Linked DNA regions of Homo sapiens: all the other regions are linked to region 1. Evidence: promoter capture Hi-C in 16 types of primary human blood cells and fetal thymus (Javierre and others, 2016). All regions are on one chromosome and are shown on one strand. The core of a region is centred on a gene start or on the middle of the fragment in contact, and the rest is flanking DNA. Distances in the headings are between cores, read along the strand shown.

Region 1 (2,633 bases), core at 50-2,549:
AGGACCTACATAAAATTAATAGTGTCAGGCCTGAGGACTGGTGTCCTCTGCCTTCAATTCACCCCCTACGCTGGACAGTCCAAATTGTCCACCCTCCTACTCCCCCCGCGGAACCAATGTGGCAGTGGCTCCAAGGTCAAGCTGCCGGTACTGTGCGAGGCGGGAGGATGGAGAGGGCAGGGCGGAGAGCCACCTGGGATGAGCGAGGGTCATGGTGGACCACAGACGCTCTTCTTATACGGGCAAATGTTTAATACTTCCCGAGGTCGCCTCTCTGCCATCAAACGAAAACAGGCAAGAAAATAAAACTACACATACGAACATGCAAAGGAAACAAAACCAAAGAAAAACACCAACGCACTCGTTGGGGGAAATCCATGGCCTCCTGTTGCCAGTCGCCCGGCGCGGAAAGTGGACAGCCCAGCGGCCAGTGAGAAGCAAGAGCAAGAAAGCAAACCTTCTGAAGACCCCTCTCCTCGCCCAGCTCCGCCGACCATTCTACCAAGCTGCCCTCCCAGAAAAAAGAGCAGGAAAAATGCCTGTGCAAACGTGCCTTGGCGAGCGGGGAATAAGTGGGCTGGGAAGAAGGGAAGGATTCGGAGAGCACAGCTGTCCCGGGGAACAGGAAGGAGGAGAAAGTCTCTCCCTCCCTTCAGTGCCCCGCGCCCCAGCGAGGAGGAAGATTACTAGTCCAGCAGGCTGCGTCCAGCTTCCTACACAGGAACCTTTAGCATGGGCAACGGAAGGGCAGCCCCCTCCTGCCTTCCCCTCCCCACCCCACCCCCTCGTCCCAGGTCCCCGCCACAGGGAGAGCGCCGCCCGGGAGAGGAGAAGGCCGAGCGTGATTGTCCCGCAGCCCTCGCCTCAGTCGGCGCCGGGGCCCCCGTGGACCCGCGAGGGGTGGAGTGGGCGAGACCATTGGAAAGGCAGGGAAGGGGGGAAACCAGGCAGGAACGAGGGGCGGGGCCGACTAACCTATTCCAGATTTTCCTGTCCCTTTTAAATCTCTGCTGTGGGAGAAACCCCGTTATCAAAGTGGATGAAAAGAATATTTTTTTTTGAAAGGGGAGGAGCATGTGTAGGAGGGCGGGGTGGGAGGAGACAGGGCTTGCGCCCGGGGATCAGACGGGAGGTGGAGTTGCGCGGGGAGGGCGGGCGAGTCGGGCGCCCGCTCTGAGAGTCGGTTTCTTTTCCCCCTCTTGCGTGGGGCGGGGTGGTGCGTTCCGAGTTCCCAGGAGTTCGACGCGGGCGGGTGCCGAGGGGAGGGGAGTGGCGGCGGCGGCGGGCGGCTCCCGCTTCAGCCTCGGCAGTGGCGTCGGCGACGGCGGTGTCGAGGCAGCCGCCAGCGTTCGGCCAAGTGTCAGCCGGCAGCGACGGCGCTAGAGCTGGGAGCTGGGGACGCGCGCGCCGGACCTTCCACAGCCTCCGCCCAGAGCCTGAGGCGCCGGGGCCGGGGGAGCCGGGGGGCGGGCGGGCGAGCGGGCCGGGGGGAGGGTGGGGGATGGCGCGGACCCTGCGGCCGTCCCCGCTGTGTCCTGGAGGCGGCAAAGCACAACTTTCCTCCGCTTCTCTCCTCGGAGCCGGGCTCCTGCTGCAGCCCCCGACGCCACCTCCGCTGCTGCTGCTGCTCTTCCCGCTGCTGCTCTTCTCCAGGCTCTGTGGTAGGTGAACCTCGGCGGCCGGCGTGGGCTGAGGGAGCCGCCACTGAGGGTGCGGGCGCCGCGGCCGGCTCTGCCAGCCGTTCTCTGGAGCAGCGAGGCGGTTGGTTGTGCGAGCGAGTGCCGAGGACTTTGGCTGGAAACTTTTCGCCGCGCCCGGGGCGAGGCCCTGGAAGGGCCAGGCCAGCGAATGCTGAGCCGGCGGCCCGCTGCCCTCCCCCGCGGCCGCGCGGGTCGCCGTGCGGATGGCCGAGGGTTGGCGATGGTGCTTCGTGCGCCGAACTCCGGGTTTGCTCCGGGGACCGTTACTTCCTCGCTCATTCTCTGGGAACCCTCGTAGGTTAAGGTGCCGGGATGCACGTTTGCCGCTTTTTTTCCCGGTGAAACTTGAGCTGTGAGCCCAGAAACCCTAGGGACCGGAGCCCGATGGAATGAAGCCTCCGGGTCCACTTCTCATGGCCTTCCACCCTGGAGAAGGCACCATTTTAGCCCACCCAGCCGCAGAATCCCCTACAGCTAGTTTTCTTCTGTCTTGTGCCCACTCCCCCGGCTCTGCCCTGACAGCTTCTGGAGCTCTCTAGATTGACCCTCGTCCCTGCCCTCCAGCTTGTGGGACGTCTCTCACACTGCCCGTGCTTATTTTACCAAACCGCAGGAACAAGATTTACGTGTTAAATACCTGATTTCATGGACTGTGTGCCCCGGCTGTTCTAACCAAAACAGTCACGCGCCTGTTTCCCATCTCTTGACCCTCGTGTTATGTTACTGTTTTCCTGTCATATTTGGGAGTTAGTCTCTGAGTTTTCTTCCCAGGTATGCCAGACTAGAAGCCTGCTTATTAAGGACTGTGCTAAAAAAAAAAAAAAAAAAAAAGTCTGCCTCATGCAAGAGAAATGGACTTAAGTGGTAATTAATGGGAGGCAGCGATTTGGGAAAATAAGGACACCAGTCTTTGGTGGGAGGAGGAGTATCAGA
Region 2 (2,633 bases), core at 39-2,538, 760 kb before region 1:
AGGCCTGATTCTACCTTAGTATTCCAAAGACTATGACAGCATTTGTCAACAAATATTAAAAATAGTGTCATTTGGTTCTGTGTCGGTGACAAAGATCATGACACTTTTCAGAAAGGCCAAGCAAAATCAGTATTTCTGTATGATTCAAAGTATAGTGTGATAAGAGATAGAGAGAAGACTAAGAAAGGAACAGAACATGAAAAGCATTATGTATCAAAGATCTTGGACTCCAATATCCAAAATAAATTCACAGGGTGCCTATTCTGTTCTACGTACCATTTGAATCCCTAAATACACAACAATTCTCCTGACAGAAATGATTTCTGGTCTCATGGAACTCAGTATCTCACAGGGAAGACACACAATCCCCAATAGGGGGAGGTCCTTTGAAGAATTTCATATAGTTAAGCCACATGATCAGATTTTTAACAATTCCTAAGAATCAGATCTCCCAAATTTAACTTAGTTGAATGTTTAAATTTAATTCAGATTTATTTTTTTTTCTTGGATAGAAAAATAAAGATGCACGTTAAGCTTCTAGCAACATTCTGGAGGTTAGAAAGCTGAACTCAAAATCATCTGTCCCCATTCTTGTGATACCAGAGAAAAAGTGGCTGGGCAGACGTGACACTAAGTATTCCCATTCTATAACCCTGGTTCCTTCCAGGCTGTGTTAATCTGGCATTCCAGGGCTAGCGATAAAGCCCTGGGGTGCTTTGTTTACAAACCAAGGCAAAATAATTTACAGAATATTTTCCTATAAAAAGAATAACTTCAAGAGGTTTTAAACTTTTCCTAATAATACTGACTTTTAAGAACTCTTTGAAATTGCCTTCAAAAGCAGTTTAAAATAATAAAAGAATTCAGGATAATAATTTTAAGATCCCATATTCTTTCAGTGGTTCTCAAAATGTGGTCTCCAGACCACATCAGTATCACCTGGAAACTTTTTAGAAAAGTACGTTTTCAGGTCCCACCCTCAACGAAATGATCAGAAACTCTGAGGGTAGACAGAGCACTCTGGGTCTGAATGAGAGCCCCATGGTATCCTGAGGCTGTTAATCTGGGGAATCACACTTTAAGAATCACTGTATTATTTTGTCCCAATTAATATTAATCACATTGATCATTTCATCTTATCACTAGCCACCCTTAAGTGACTGAGCAGCTTCTCAAAGCCACCCTCAGAAAATAAATCATTCTTACCAGTGAGGTTATTTAAGAAAGCACGCTGCATGATATCAAGGTAATTCTAATAACAACAACAAAAAAGCAGAAACAGCACAATGGGGTTATTTGGAAAGAGAGAATGATTATTTGAATAAATATATACTCATCAGTCTTGCAACATGGCAATGGAAAAGCTGTGGTCATATAGGTCAAACTTAGTATAAGTAAATTTATATTTTGTTTCCTGACTTATTTTCTGCCAACTTTTTTCCACGGTGTGTGTACAAAAAAAAGTTATCAAGCTGGAGAATCCTAAACAACAGGAATCTTATTTTACACTTCATCATTTATCTTAAGAACGTTTTCAGGCCAGGTGCAGTGGCTCACGCCTGTAATCCCAGCACTTTGGGAAGCCGAAGCAGAGAGATCACTTGAGGTCAGGAGCTCGAGACCAGCCTGGCCAACATAGAGAAACCCCGTCTCTACTAAAAATACAAAAAATTAGCTGAGTGTGGTAGTGGGCGCCTGTAATTCCAGCTACTTGGGAGGCTGAGGCAAGAGAATCGCTTGAACCCGGGAGGTGGAAGTTGCAGTGAGCTGAGTTTGCATGACTGCAATCCAGCCTGGGTGACAGAGCAAGACTCTGTCTCATAAAAACAAAACAAAACAAAACATTTTCATTTCTATTACTTTATTATAAACCACCACGGCACACATTTACCTAGGTAACAAACCTGCACATGTACCCCGGAACTTAAAATAAAATTTTTAAAAAAGAGTACACCAAAAAAAATTGCTAATTGGAGAAACCAGTAAGCACAAATTCCTCAAGTACTTCACAAAGTGTAGCATTTTTGCATTCTGTAGCACATGTAAGCTTCAGTGGAAAGTTGTACAATTCGACATGGCTGTAGCTTGAAAAAGAAGCATGCTATTTCTTATAGGCTTTAATAGGTAAACTCTATTAAAATCATCTTTTTACCAGTAAAGAATTTCTTAATAATTTGCTGTTTGTAAAATAGTTACCTTTTTTAAAGAATGTATGACTTTTTTGGAAATGTATTTTTAAGTGCGTTCTTTCGGACCCACAAATTCAGGATGATGGAAAGGAAGACAGTTGTGGTTTTGCTAAATGAGTAAATGTGTGGAAGTATTACATAACCAAAGGGGTTCATGTTTTAGTGCAAGTGGCTAGAATTTTAAATAGCTCTAAAGTTCCCTTTCTATTGATTTATATTCAGACAAAAAGCCCTACTGTATAAACCAGGAAAGAACAAGCATGTAGATGGATAATACAGCTATATTAGCTGCTATGTCAGCAGTTTCCATACTCAGATTAATGCACAGAGACTCTCTCTTGACATCTGTTTATGTGCCACAAGCCAGACAAACAAAGGCAATCTACTAACCAGCATAAATTACACACACATTTCTTGTCTCTTATTACCAAATGGGTTATTGCC
Region 3 (2,633 bases), core at 95-2,594, 660 kb before region 1:
ATTTTAGAAGAAAAGCTTTCAGTCTTTTACCATTTAGTATATTCGTTGTGGGTTTTTCCAAATATGGCTTTTATTATATTGTGGTAGTTTCCTTCTATTCCTAATTTGTTCAGACTTTTAATCATGGAAGTATGTGCAATTTTGTCAAATGCTTTTTCTGCCTCAGTTGATAAGATCATGTGTTTTGTTTTTTCCTTCACATTCTTAATGTTGTATGTGGGCATTGATTGGCTTTTGCATGTTAAACTACTTTTACATCCCCAAAATAAATGGGGTGCATTTCCTTATAATGGTGCATAATCCTTATAATATGCTGCTTAATTCAGTTTGCTAGTATTTTGTTAAAATGTTTGCATTAAGATTTATAAAGGAATTGATTTGCAGTTTTCTTTTTTTGTAGTGTTTTTGTCTGGCTTTGGTATTAGGGTAACGCTGGCCTCATTGAATGACACAGAAAATGTTATCTCTTCTTCAGCTTCTTAGAAAAGTTTGAGAAAGATTTGTTTTAGTTATTTGAGTGTTTGGTAGAATTCACTAGCAAAGCCATCACGTCTTAGGCTTTTCTTTGTTGGAAGATTTTTTTTTAAATTCAATCTCCCTACTTCTTATAGGTCTATTCAAATCTTCAATTTATTTGTGATTTACTCTTGGTAGGATTTTGTTTCTCAAAATTTATCCATTTCTTCTTGCTTACGCAGTTTTCTGGCATACAATTGAAGTGGTGGTAATGCCCTTACTTTTTTGACTTTAGTAATTTGAAGCTTCTCTTTTTTGTTCTTAGTTCATCTAATTAAAGGTTTGTCAATTTTTTAAATTTCTCCAAAAAATAGATTTTGATTTTTATTAATTGTCTTTATTGTTTTGCTATTCTTTATTCTATATATCTCTTCTCTAGTCTTTATTATTTTCCTCTTCCTTCTTACTTTGGGCTTATTTTGTTCTTTTTCTAGTTCTGTAGGTTGTAAAGTTAAGTTATTGATTTGAGATTTTTCTTGTCTTTTAATGTAAGCATTTATAGCTATAAATTTCTACTTTGCACTGGTTTTTCCATGTCTCTTAAGTTTTGGTGTGTTGTATTTTGTTTTTTGTTTTTTTTTTCATTCATTACAAAGCATTTTCTAATTTCCCTTGTAATTTTTTCTTAGATCCTAATTTACTGAAAGACTTAATATGCCTTTAAAAAAGTAGTAGATTCTAACTATGTTTTAAAAATTCTCCATTTAGCCTAACAGTTAAGTAATCCACGTGGGTACCACACCTTAATTCTTCATATTGAATTACTGAAATTGTAATACACTGTGGTTAAAAGTCAAGAAAGGGCCCTTAAGTGAGTACTAAAAGTACAACTATTTATTTGGACAATATCTGTTTTGTAAACAAACTTCAAAAGTTATATTTGGTGTTACTTAAATATACAACTAAGAGAATTAATTACATTGCACATACAAACATAAGAACATTTAACGTAATTTTTTTTCATAAAAAGTCAAAAGGGTATGTTTCTATTATAGCACTAAAAGTATTTCTCCATAAACATTAAATATATGATATATAAATACATTTCTGTAATATCAAAGTTTTACTGGCAGGAAATCCTTTCGTTCTTTTTTTGAGACAGAGTTTTGTTCTTGTTGCCCATGCTGGAGTGCAAGGGCGCCATCTTGGCCCACTGCAAACTCTGCCTGCCGGGTTCAAGTGATTCTCCTGCCTCAGCCTCCTGAGTAGCTGGGATTACAGACATGCGCCACCACGCCAGGCTAATTTTGTATTTTTAGTAGAGATAGGGTTTCTCCATGTTGGTCAGGCTGGTCTTGAACTCCCAACCTCAGGTGATCCGCCCACCTCAGCCTCCCAAAGTGCTGGGATCACAGGCGTGAGCCACTGCGCCTGGCTAGGAATTTCTTTTGTCTGTATTACTCACAAATGACAAAGCTTTGGCAAATACAACAGATTATGCCTAGAAAATGCCAATAAAATGTTTGCATCCCTTTCTCAAAAACTTTTGAAGATTAGAAGAATGACCTCTAAAATCTTTTTACTTCAAAAAACAGATAATTAATTTGCACTTATTTATACATTTTACTGTGAAATGTAACACTCTTTTCTAATCAGTTGTCACTTATTCATTATATATTCTTATATGTCAGAAGAATAGGAAAAAAATAAATGCAAATTTATAAAAGTGTTCACACCCAAGAGGCACAAGAAAGTATTCAAGGGATCAAATAAAGCACATTAAAAAGTGTAAGAGAATATAAGGAAAACTCATGACTCATGGCATTAATACAATTAATCTATGAGACCTCAAAGAGTAGCTTAAACCATTCTTAATTGTGTCAATTAAAAACTGAGGGGATTGGACCACCTGAGTTTCACAGTTTCTTTGACCTCTTTTCAGCTTACATCATCTAGGATCTATTTCTCTTAGTTGTAACCAAGAATTCTGAATGATTCAACCTTCCATTTGCTTGCTTTCTACTACTGTTAATAATTCTAATTTTATTAACTTTGTTGTCCTTCATTATAGATTGTTTCAAAAGTATTGAGTAAAGAGGATATGACTAAAATAAAATAAATGGTAATAGCTTTAATTAACCTTATTTTATTTTACTGAAGATATTCTGTTTCCTACA
Region 4 (2,633 bases), core at 41-2,540, 600 kb after region 1:
AATTCAGTATCATGTGAATGAATGACAGGAAATGGCAAATGAGTGAGTAGGAGAAAGAAAAATGCCTTGTGGAGCAGAGAATTTGCTAAAGGTGGTGATTGTCACTCAAGTATGGTGAGTTGAGCTTTTCTTTTGACTCACTTCACATCACAGACTAATATATCCACTTTAAATCAATGCTCTTCTTCTAATGATTTTTATTGTGGCATGTCAGTCAGGCCAGGAGAGGTCAGGACCTAAATCTGGGCAGCTTGGCAGATGCCTTAGGCTGAATAGGCCACTGAGTCAGTTTCAAAGTTTAGCCCAGATTGGTAGAATCAGGCAGGCATCATAGGTGCAGAGGAAAAAAAAAAAAAAAACAGATCCAAGGAATCAGTGAAGACTCAAGTAAGTAGACACAGAACACCAGTCTAGACAGGTGAGGAAACTTAGTCTAAAACTCTTGGAGCAAGAACATACCTCAGCAGGCTAAAGATTCATAGGAGTTTGAGACCTGAGTCAGAGGCCTCTTGTCTTCTACTTCCGCTGTGTAAATTTATCAGGCTTTAATATTGTACATTCGGTACCAGAAGGGCAGGATGAGCCCTACAAGTGAAACTTTCTCCTGGTCAACTCAAGAGGAGGGAGTTAAGCTTAGGTGGGAAGCTTTCAGTTCTCTACTCTCTTTAAGAAGACAGTCTAATGGCTCATAATCTTGATTCTTCACCAGCGTTTGCTCCAGGTTGCCTAAGGTTTGGGCAAATAGACACGATTTCAAGCTTTGGTTTCAAATCCACTCATAGTCTTCTACTTTACTAAAGTTGGCTGGGCCATGAGTGAACAGAGCTTTCTTGTGCCTAATTGACTTCTTGGTGCCTTTCTTCCAGACCTAGGACTTTCACATTAGGGGTCACAAGTACCCAAGAATAAAGGCGTGTGCCAGAAGGGACTCGAAGCCACAGGGCAAACATAGCACATCCAGAACATCAATTTTGTGTGTGTGTGTGCATGTGTGTGTGTGTGTGTGTGTGTGTAACAAAATGTGAATGAATTTACAAAAACAAACTATGCAGCTTGAAAGAAATGCCAGGATCAGTGCTTGTCATGCCTGCCATACAGGGCTCTGGGGAGTGTGCATTTACTCAGCTCCATGATTAGGGCACATCTGGCGCAAGAGTTGAGAAGCTTTGCCCTCGGGCCGCACACACATCAATCCTACCACTGTGGAGGTGATGGAGGCACTAAAGGTGACTTCCATCCAGGTCATTCATACTTCCCACTCTGAGAGCTTCATTATGTGTTTTCTGAGCCTGACTGCCTGAGCTAAGCGCATCTCATCCTGGGTGCTGAATGCGGGGAGAGGGTAGAGAAAATGTTGAGGTGTCCCCAGAGGCTAGAACGTGTTACCAGTATAAAGGTACTCCCCAAAACACAATCTCAAGCTTTTGCTGGTAGCCGCATGATTTTAGAATATTAGGTCCATATTTATATAGAAGTTCTGTTAGTCCTGACTACAGCAAATGAAGTCAAAGATTTGAGTGAGGAAAGGCAATAAAAAGGAAAGAAAGGCTTAACTGTGCAAAGACAAAAGGTATCTACAGCAGGCAGAGGGAAAAAAACAGAGTACGGTTGGAAAGACCGTGAAGTTCATGTAGTTCAATCAAGCATCAGGTGCTTCAATTCTATCATGTTACTGTCTTATTGGTGCCAAGCTTGGCTTGGATGCTTCCAGTTATAGGAACTCACTTCCTCCTCTACTTCATTATATTGCTTAACTCTGACTTCTAGAATATTCTCCTTTATACTTGGCTGAAACAGAAAGATGTGTGGCATAAATTTTACTTTCTCTTTTACTTCTGCTACTCAAAGGAAGAGGAAGCTGTGGGTGCAGATGTTGCTAAGATAAACTACAACTTCCTCCATGACCAGTTTCTGCAGTTTAGGAAGGGCAGAGCCGAACACGTGGCTGAGTTGGGGAGTTAACTACAGACACTTAAGCAAATCAGAATCCTTTGAAACAAAATCATCAAAAGGCCAAGAAGCATTTGTAAGGGCTTTTGACTACAACCTAACATTCAGAGAGAGTTGATCAGAGAGAGTTGTTGACACACTAAAAATTCATTACTTTTATTTACATTGAAATTTATTTACTTTATTAAAAAATATTTTTGTTGGTTAAGGTTGTTTGTACAAACTTGTAATTTTAATATTTAAAAAGTTGGAAGAGAATGATAGTATTAGGTAATGATAATATTACTAATTTTTACTCCATGGATGAGGTGGCATCATGCTATTTCCAATTGATAGTGGCACACCAAATTGCAGAGTCATGTTGTTAAAAGAATGCATTCCCAAGATTAGATTGGTTAAATGATAACAAATGCACAGAGGTCATTCTGTTGTGACTGAAGCTCAAGTGATTACTAATATACACATTAATACAACAATGTCTCCTAATAATAGACATAATTCTCATAATTCTAGGAACCTTGGGGTGGGGTGGTAGCCTGGAGAAAAAAAAGGTAAGGGTGGCAGATCAATTGATTTTCCTGCTAGTTGAGATCAACTATCTCTGCCAAAATAGTCTTCCTAATTGCATAAAGTTATATGCAGCATGGATAAGAATTGTTTACTCTGCCATTCTACCTATTTTA
Region 5 (2,633 bases), core at 94-2,593, 540 kb after region 1:
GCCAAAGGTGAGGATGCTTGAGGAACATGAAGGGAGACAGGAGAATGCAGAAAAGGGAAAGCTTTCACGTGGGTGGTTCCTTCTTCTAAGGGTGATTAAAAGCAACAGAAGAGACTAAGCAAACAAAATACCTTCTATAGCACTTGGTTCACAGTAAGTGTCAACATGTTGTATTCTATTATTAGAACCTCTAAATCCATTTGGAAATACAGTAAGAACCCAAGGTAGGAAATAGAGTGGCTGATTGACCAGTCTGTCTTTGTCTAAGGGGTGTGTGTGTATGTGTGTGTCTGCGTGCATGTGTGTTTTAATAAAAATAATCTAGGTTTAGAATGAAAGCAAATAATCTAGGTTTAGAATTATGTATCTACTTGAGATAGATACTGATGTAAACAAAACCAGGCTCACAAGGACCAACATCTAGTGAGGGGAGGAGGGAAGTGGGCAGTAAAGATGAGCAGAAATCTACAGTTAGCATGAAAAGCCACATTATACCCTACTTGATATATCCCCCACGACTGCCCTCTCCCTTTCTCTTGCTTTGCTCAGCCAAGCTAGCCTCCTAGCTGTTTCTTCAACATACCAGGATTTCTCTCATCTCAGGGCCTTTTAACCTCACTTCCTATGCCTGAAAAATTCTTCCCCCAAATATCTACATGGATCACACCCTCATCTTCTCGAAATTTTTGTTCAAATGTCACCTTCTCGATGAGGTACTCCATGACCATCATATTTTAAATTGCAGCTGCCTCCCACCCCATTTCCTGTTCCCCTTTTTTGGCTGTATTTTCTCCATAACACATTTTAACACCGTCTATAAGTTACCTGTTTGGCTCCTCTCCACACATAAAAAAAGTAAATCTGATGAGGGCAGTGTTTTTTATCTTATTTGTCTACTGATACAGCTGTATCACCTAGAACAATGATAACACATGGTTACCAATAAGTATTGATAATTCAGTAAATATTTTTTAAATGGAGAATTTTTTTAAGTATAAAAAAGAAGAGATTAACAAAGGAAGGCTTTAGGGAATGCAGAGGATATCTCCCTAAAGAAAAGCCATCTGGCTAGGGCTGATGTCTGGGTAGCCTTATGACAGGAAGCTGAAAGGTGGTGGTGGGACAGGAAGCTGAAAGGTGGTGGTGGGACAGGAAGAGAAGCTATCAAAGGCCTGCTATTCTGGGTGGTTGCGTGCTAGACATCATGAGTGAGCTCTTCCGTGGCTAGGCCCTGATGATGATGATGCATGCTGCAGCAAGGCTAACTACACTTATAAGGCTACCAGAATGGAATAAATATAGTCTTTAGTGTCAGACAGCCTTGGGTTCAGTTGTTGTCTCTGCCACCTACTGGCTCTGTAGCCTAGAGCAAGTCATTCTGATGGCAGCAGCTGCCCGACTGGACTAGCTGCTGTGGGGATGCCAGCTGTAGTGAGGGAGGCCTGGCTGGGACTGTTGAGCCCGTAGAGGCTGAGAACAGGAGGGAGCCTGCCCCCTACTGACTTGGCAAGGCAGGAGCCCTGGGCTTTCAGGGCAGCTGCAGCCACCCAGCTGTGGCTCCAGACCCTGACACCCCTGCTCTCTTGAGGGCCTGGGAACACCCCCGCTTCTGCAGGCTCAGAAGGGCCTGCTTCCACCCCCTGGACTCTTCCCACTCCCAGCACCTGCTCCAATTTCAGAGCAAAGATGAGGCTCAGCCCAGGCACTGTCACAACCTGGCCAGGTGTGTGCACACTTGGGGCAGCACTGACACACCAATCCCCCACCTTGGCCCCCTCCAGACTTTGGGCGCCAAGGAGCACAGGAAGGAGGCAGCAGGTGGAGATGGGCTGAGGGCAGCTGGGTGCAGGCCTGCAGGTGCCATTTGGTGCAAACAGCCTGGGCTATGGAAGGCATGATGACAGTGGGAGGCTGACTAGGTTCCTGGATGGAAAGGTGTAGGTCCCCAGTGAAACCCCACCTTCAGGCCAGGCATGGCCTGAAGCCTGGGAGCCAGGCTGCCAGTTCCAAGTGAAGTCCATGGATATGAGTAATAACTTCATCGATGACCACTGGGCCAATTGGATAGTGCTTTTTCCTGGCCTGCCTATGGCCATCTATGGACCAATCACCATGCACTTTCTCCCTTCTGAGCCCATGAAAAACCGGGGATTCAGCCAGACTCAGAAAGAAGTCAAGACTACCAGCTGTGGGAGGGAGCTACCCACTATGGGTCTCCTCATCCAGACAACTTGCCTGCAGAAAGGAGCTACCCACTACAGGTCTCCTCTCCACTGAGAGCTGGACACTCATTGGGACAGCCTGCATATGGAAAGGAACTACCCACTTCAGGTCTCCTGAGAGCTGTTCTGTGGCTCAGTGAAGCTCCTCTCCACCTTGCTCACCCTCCAGTTGTCAGCATACCTCGTTCTTCTTGGGGGCGAGACAAGAACTTGGGACCTACTGAATGGTGGGACTGAAAGAGTTGTAACACAAACCCAGCTGAAACACACCTCCCACCTGCTCACCACATTGCAAGCAATGAGAAGGAGAGAAGAGCTGTGGCCCTTCAGGGAGCCCAGACCTAAGGCCTCCCAGGCCAGGGCTGTAAAACCCTCTTTGGAGCTCTACAGTTCCTGGCATCTCCAAGCTTT

The links. Contacts are between HindIII fragments. The CHiCAGO score rates a contact against its expected background, and 5 or more counts as called.
Region 2: a fragment that was not itself captured here is called in contact with the fragment with the promoter of NECTIN3 in region 1 in 1 of 17 cell types (endothelial precursors); the score reaches 5.2 in endothelial precursors.
Region 3: a fragment that was not itself captured here is called in contact with the fragment with the promoter of NECTIN3 in region 1 in 1 of 17 cell types (endothelial precursors); the score reaches 5.2 in endothelial precursors.
Region 4: a fragment that was not itself captured here is called in contact with the fragment with the promoter of NECTIN3 in region 1 in 1 of 17 cell types (fetal thymus); the score reaches 5.9 in fetal thymus.
Region 5: a contact is called between a fragment that was not itself captured here and the fragment with the promoter of NECTIN3 in region 1, in 2 of 17 cell types (activated CD4 T cells and non-activated CD4 T cells). The highest score is 6.4, in activated CD4 T cells.

Annotation. Positions count from the first base shown.
Region 1 is chr3:111,070,517-111,073,149 of GRCh38, forward strand. NECTIN3 (nectin cell adhesion molecule 3) reads left to right here and starts at 1,300. Exons shown (of 6, transcript NM_015480.3): 1 at 1,300-1,661. The coding sequence starts at 1,502. It overlaps LOC151760 (putative uncharacterized protein LOC151760), which reads right to left and starts at 1,250. Exons shown (of 4, transcript XR_007096272.1): 1 at 976-1,250. RefSeq lists a silencer at 1,028-1,127. The HindIII fragment of the contact is 3,046 bases long and covers 1-2,633 here.
Region 2 is chr3:110,309,241-110,311,873 of GRCh38, forward strand. No RefSeq gene overlaps it. Among named protein-coding and RNA genes, the nearest start is that of MIR4445, 710 kb to the left of the region's middle. The HindIII fragment of the contact is 1,513 bases long and covers 533-2,045 here.
Region 3 is chr3:110,409,131-110,411,763 of GRCh38, forward strand. No RefSeq gene overlaps it. Among named protein-coding and RNA genes, the nearest start is that of NECTIN3-AS1, 660 kb to the right of the region's middle. The HindIII fragment of the contact is 1,171 bases long and covers 760-1,930 here.
Region 4 is chr3:111,666,200-111,668,832 of GRCh38, forward strand. No RefSeq gene overlaps it. Among named protein-coding and RNA genes, the nearest start is that of PLCXD2, 7.2 kb to the right of the region's middle. RefSeq lists an enhancer at 1,736-1,785. The HindIII fragment of the contact is 257 bases long and covers 1,163-1,419 here.
Region 5 is chr3:111,615,314-111,617,946 of GRCh38, forward strand. All of the region lies in intron 8 of CD96 (CD96 molecule), which reads left to right. Among named protein-coding and RNA genes, the nearest start is that of ZBED2, 21 kb to the left of the region's middle. RefSeq lists enhancers at 1,190-1,690, 1,691-2,191. The HindIII fragment of the contact is 2,568 bases long and covers 60-2,627 here.